Linked DNA regions of Homo sapiens: region 2 is linked to region 1. Evidence: promoter capture Hi-C in 16 types of primary human blood cells and fetal thymus (Javierre and others, 2016). All regions are on one chromosome and are shown on one strand. Each heading gives the region's core, a stretch centred on a gene start or on the middle of the fragment in contact. The rest is flanking DNA. Distances are from core to core; before and after follow the strand shown.

Evidence for each region. The method cuts DNA at HindIII sites, captures the fragments that hold promoters and counts their contacts. A CHiCAGO score of 5 or more calls a contact.
Region 2: a contact is called between a fragment that was not itself captured here and the fragment with the promoter of RMP24 in region 1, in 1 of 17 cell types (non-activated CD4 T cells). The highest score is 6.3, in non-activated CD4 T cells.

Annotation. Positions count from the first base shown.
Region 1 is chr18:35,971,303-35,974,178 of GRCh38, reverse strand. It overlaps RMP24 (ribonuclease MRP subunit p24), which reads right to left and starts at 1,500. Exons shown (of 5, transcript NM_031446.5): 1 at 1,374-1,500; 2 at 1,272-1,294. The coding sequence starts at 1,450. LOC105372066 (a long non-coding RNA gene) reads left to right here and starts at 1,728. Exons shown (of 4, transcript NR_188032.1): 1 at 1,728-1,781. RefSeq lists an enhancer at 818-1,710 and silencers at 1,630-1,779, 1,719-2,013. The HindIII fragment of the contact is 7,007 bases long and covers 963-2,876 here.
Region 2 is chr18:41,969,232-41,972,107 of GRCh38, reverse strand. It overlaps PIK3C3 (phosphatidylinositol 3-kinase catalytic subunit type 3), which reads right to left. Exons shown (of 25, transcript NM_002647.4): 4 at 1,652-1,781. Among named protein-coding and RNA genes, the nearest start is that of PIK3C3, 15 kb to the right of the region's middle. The HindIII fragment of the contact is 760 bases long and covers 1,143-1,902 here.

The DNA.
Region 1 (2,876 bases), core at 251-2,750:
TGAGTGATATTATAGAGACCAGAGGGAAATGGAGGATTCACATGAAAGCAGATATGTGAGGCAAGAATCCCAGGCAGAGTGAAGAGTACCTGCAAAGGCCCTGAAACAGAAAAGCAAGGAGACCTAGTGTGACTGGAGTTGCGTGAAGGAAAGAGTACGTCAGAGAGGTATGCAGGTCTATGACACAGGGCCTTACAATCCTTTTAAAGGACTTTCACTTTTATTAATCCAGGAGAGAGCTGGTGATGGCCTGGAGCAGGGTAGTAGCAATGGATGTGGTGAGGAGTGGAGTGCAATGGCGCCATCTCCGCTCACTGCAACCTCCACCTCCCGGGTTCAAGAGATTCTCATGCCTCACCCTCTCGAGTAGCTGGGATTACAGGCGTGCACCACCATGCCAGGTAATTTTTTTGTATTTTTAGTAGAGACAGCGTTTCGCCATGTTGGCCAGGTTGGTCTCGAACTCCTGGCCTCAAATGATCCGCCCGCCTCTGCATCTCAAAGTGCTGGGATTACAGGGGTGAGCCACCGCTCCTGGCTGATTTTGGCTACATTTTAAAGCCAACAGGATTTGCTCGCATACTGGCCTGGGGGAGGAGAGAGAGTTAGGGAGTCAAGAATAGCTCCAAGGTTTTTGGGCTCAATAACTGTAAGGGAAGAATGGAATTATTTACTGAAATGAGAAAAACTGGAGGATCTTGTTGGGGGTTAAAGCTCAGGTTTTGGACATATTAGCTAAGTTTGAATTACTAGACATTGAAAAGAATTTGTCAAGAAGACATTCGGATATATGAGTCTAGAATTCAGAGGAGAGGTCTGCGCTGAGTATATACATTTGTAAGTCCTCAGTATATGGTATTTAAAAGCCATGAGATTGGATGAAAAACTGTCACCAAGGAAGCGAGTGTGCCTAGAAAAGAGGTCCAAGGGCTGAGTACTGGGCCACGACAATACTTAAAGCTTGGGGAGATTAGGAGGAACCAGCAAAGCAAATCGAGAAGTAATAAATGAAGAGGTGAACTACGTAATGACCTAGAAGCCAAGGGAGGAAACTATTTCAAGACTGATCAATGTGTCAAATGCCGCTAACAAAGCAAGACAAGGCACATTAAAGAATTTGGATTTTTCACGAAACCGAGACACATGCGGGCTTTGTTGTTGTTGTTTTTATGGAGGGAAGTGAGTCCATCGGCCTTATTTGAGCGTTGTGCGGAACAGAGGAAAGCGGGGCGACAAGAGCCCAAAGCACAAGAGACAGGCGTTCTTCTTACCGTGCGACGAAGTGTAGGCCCAGCTGTAAAAGAGAAAGAGACTTGTGAGGAGCAAAGGAACACCTACCCGCTCGCCTCCCGCTTCCCCTCCAGTCCTCTTACAGGAGGTAGCGGGCTTGGCCCGGGCAGCTGTCGTGCAGTCCCCGCGCTGCAGCCTCAAGGTAGTGCTTCTGTCTCATCGCCGCCGCCGCTGCCGCTGGCTCGCCGCGGGAACCAGGTGAGAAAATAGGGCGCCGGAAGTCGGCTTCCCAGCGTCCCCGTCGTTGGTGTCCGGACTCAAGCTGCTTCCGGAAACAGGCACCGTAGGCAGACAGGTTCCGGTTTCCTTCGCGTCCAGTCTGGCTTGGAGGCGTGCCCAGCCGGGAGGCGGCCCCACCCGCCCGCCGCGTCCCCGCCCCCTCAGTTCCACCCCTTGGCCTGCCGGGTCCTCTCAGGCACCCAGCGGAGTTTCGAGTCAGACTTGAGCTCGGGCGTAGCGGCTAGACCGGGCTGTGGCGATAGAGTCCAAAGGTGAGGCTCCCACCCGCCTCTCCATCTTCCTCCCGCCTCGCCTCCTCTCTGACAGCCCTTTTGTGATTGCCCTGCCGCAGCTTCGCCCTCCACATTCGCCGGGCGCGGTACTGACTGGTGCGCCGGCGGGCGGAAGCGCTGCCAGCAACGAGGCGGCCGGGAGGAGCGTCCCCAGTCCAGCCTGCCCTCCGCCTGCGTAAACGCTAGCGTTTCTCTTTTTGTAATTAAAGTGAAATTCACATAACGTAATATTGACCATTTTAAGGTGAACAATTCAGTGGCGTTTAGTAAATTTACAATGTTGTGCAAGCACCATTCTGCTATTTCCAAAATATTTCGCCGAAGGACAGCCAACTCCATGAAGCACTTACGGCCAATCCTCCTCTCCCTCCCAGGCCTTGGCAACCACCAGTCCGCTTTCTGTCTCTATGGATTTACCTATTCTGGGCATTTCATGTAAATGGAATCATACACACGACCTTTTGTGTCTGGCTTCCTTCACCTAGCATAATGTATCAGGTTCATCCACCTTGCAGCACGTATCAGTACTTCATTCGTTGTTATGGCTGAATAATATTCCATTGTATGGCGGTATCACAATGGTTTATCCATTCATCAGTTGAACGTTTGAATTGTTTCTACTTTTTGGCTGTTATGAATGAATGCCGCTGTGAACATGTGTGTACATGCATTTGTTTGAGTGCCTTTTTTCTGTTCTTCGGGGTATAATACCTAAGAGTAGATCTGCTGGGTTATGTAGTAATTCTGTGCTTAATGAGGGTTCCAGTTTCTCCGTATCCTCACCAACATTTGCTTTTCTTTTTCTTTTTTTTTTAAATCTAGCCTTCCTAGTGAGTATGATGTAGCATCTCATTGTGGTTTTGATTAACATTTCCCTGACTACTGATGCTTTTGAGCAGCTTTTCATGTGCTTGTTGGCAATTTATGTATCTTTGGCTGTTTAAGTTCTTTGCTCATTTTTTATTGGAGTTGTCTTTTTGTTGATAAGTTGTAAGGTTCTTTTAATGTGTATGTTCTGGATAGTGGACCCTTATTTAGCCTGCTTTATTTATTTATCTGAGATGGGATCTCACT
Region 2 (2,876 bases), core at 273-2,772, 6.0 Mb before region 1:
ACGTTGTGCTACATTAAAAAACCAGCAGTCCAACTGGGACTAATTCCAATGATTATACTCCATACACCGATGCCTGAAAAATGTCATAGTTGTTACAAAAATTATTTTTTAAACCTTCCATCAAAAAGAATTAGGGAAAAAAATTAGAAACCTAACTTTTTAGGTGAACAGAAGCCTAAATAATGTGTTTAACAGAGAAACAATGTAGTTACACTGTGCAACTATAAAGCTTTATATTTCTTGACTCTGGCCATTCCCCCTCAGACTTAGAATTTCACCTACAATATGAATCATAATGGCTACTCTTAAAAGACAATTTAAGAGCTTTTTTAAAAATATTATTCTTTATTCTTTTTTAATTTAACCTTTTTCATATTATAGTGACCCACAGGCTATAAATGAATTGATTCTAATAAAATTTATATTAACTATTCAAGGTTTGTAAAAGGGACAGAGAGTAGCTCAAATGAAAGATCATCACTAAGATAAAGTCTTAAAGGTAGACATATGAAAAGCTTGAGACCTTTCCTATATCCCACGTCAGAATGCAAACAAAATCTCAGAATGAGTAGAAGAAATGAATATTAAATTTTATTTAATTATGGATGGGAGAAGCAGACAATAGTATATTGGTCAATATAGTTATCAGGTTGCTACAACACCATTTTTCCTTAAAAGAGCAATACAAAAGACAAAATGAACTTGACAAAAATTCTGTGTTGAAGCATGAAGCCTAGCCAACCCAAGTACTTATTCTTGAAGATTTCTTCTATATGTGGGTAAAGGCAACAAGCTGTTAAAAGCTTAGCAACAAAACTTCCTCCAGACATTAAAGAGGCACTCCTACTAATAAGATTGCAAAAAAAAAGTATGTATTATAACTACAAGAAAGTGTCCTAATCAGATAACTGTAAAGGGATCCTTAAACAGTATCTAACACAGTGCTTTGTGAAAGGAAGTTCACAAAATAAATGACAGCGTTGCAATTAATGCACGGAATAGAATTTAGTTTTTATATTTCTAAGTGAAAACACTTGATTAAAACAATTTTGAAAGAAAAAGGTAATAACTTCATTTGCTTACAAAGAAACTTTATACTAGTTAATTGTCTGAGTCATCTTCACTTCCAAGTGGCATAAGCTTCTCTAGAATGTTACACTAACAACTTTAAGGCTATGTCACCAGAAAAAGTGGGTGGTCATCTTGAAAATATCACCAACGCTCCACATTTTCAAACCTGACAGATTTCCAGACATAAGGTCACATACTGAATGATTCCATTTATATGAAATTTCCAGAACAGGCAAATCCATACAGATAGTAAGTAGATTAGTACTTGCCTGGAACTAACTGCAGGGAGCAGAAAATGGGAGTGACTGTTAATGGTGCGGTTTCTTTTAGGGGTGATGAAAAAATTCTAAAATTATATAGTGGTGATGATTATACAAGTCTGTAAATTTACTAAACCATCAGACTGTATGCTTTCCAAGGGTGAACTTTATGGTATGTGAATTATATCTCAATAAAACAATTATTTAAAAGTTAAGATTTAGATTTTTTAAAAATCTGACAGAGTTCATAATGTCAAGGTATATATACTACAATAGACATCAGTCAGAGCTTTGCACCTGTTCCAAATGACTTTTTTTACCTTGGCAAGACGGCTCATCTGATCTTCTGAGAGAGTGCTACTTGTTCTGCCAGGAGTTTTTGTGGGTTCTGATCCATCTGCTTCTACATTAGGCCAGACTTTCAAGTCATGCATCCCTTGGCGAAACATGCTAGGGAAAAAGAGAATGTTCAGGGTAGAAGTAAATTAATACAGTTCATTACAGGAAATTTTAGATTCCTAAAAATAAAGAGAATTCTATACATGGAAATGTATATCTCCACTGCCAAGCTTTAAGCCCCCAATGGAATGTAAAGCAATTAACCAAGCAACTAAAATCCATGTCACACTGCTTTGCACATGCCATTCTTTTCTCCTCCAAGCGCTCAGAACTATGACAGAGAATTCTACACAGAGAGTGGAAGGAGAGAAGGATGAGAAATGAGCACACACATTTCATCACTTTGGTGAAGATCTAAGGAATAACAGAGATCAAATTCCTAACCAACTGAAGAATGCCACATTTACAATGACTAAAATCAAAATTTAAATAATTACATAACTGTTTTCTTTAAATGACATTACAGTAGACTATATAGTCAAACTGCCTGTACTTGAATCACAGCTGTGCTATTACCCACATAACCTAGGGTAAACTACTTAACCTCTCTGTACCTCGGTTTCCTCTTTTATAAAATAGGATAAAAGGACTTGTATCCCACAAGGTAACTGGAAAAATTAAATAAATCAATACAAGTAAAAAGTACTTAGAACAGTGGCTGGCATACAGTTAGTATTCAATAAATGTTAGCTATTACTAGTCTTTTTGCTGTACAAATTGATTTCTCCTTTCTTTTCCATAAAAGGCATGTTCTAAAAGTGAATACAATAGTAGATTCATACAAAAACATTTCCCATGTCTATAAATCAGAAATTTAGCACATAGCCAGAATTCAGCCTAAGTTTGGTTATCCTGCTTCAAAGTGAAACAATATATAACCTTTGTCTTGTTTTTGTCAAAAAGCTACCAAGAACATATAAAGATGAAACAAACTCATAAAGAGCTTTAGATAACTATGTGTTTTAATTATGCTGCTGCCAAGTTCCCATGTTTCTTTCTGATGGGGAGGTTAAAGATGTTCTTCTGTTAATGCGGTTTCTTTTCAAAAAAATATTTTTGAACAAGAATTTTCAAACATAAAGTCTACTCAAACAGCATCTACTCAAAGCTCAATAAGTTATTTCTTACTCTTAGAAATAAAAAGAC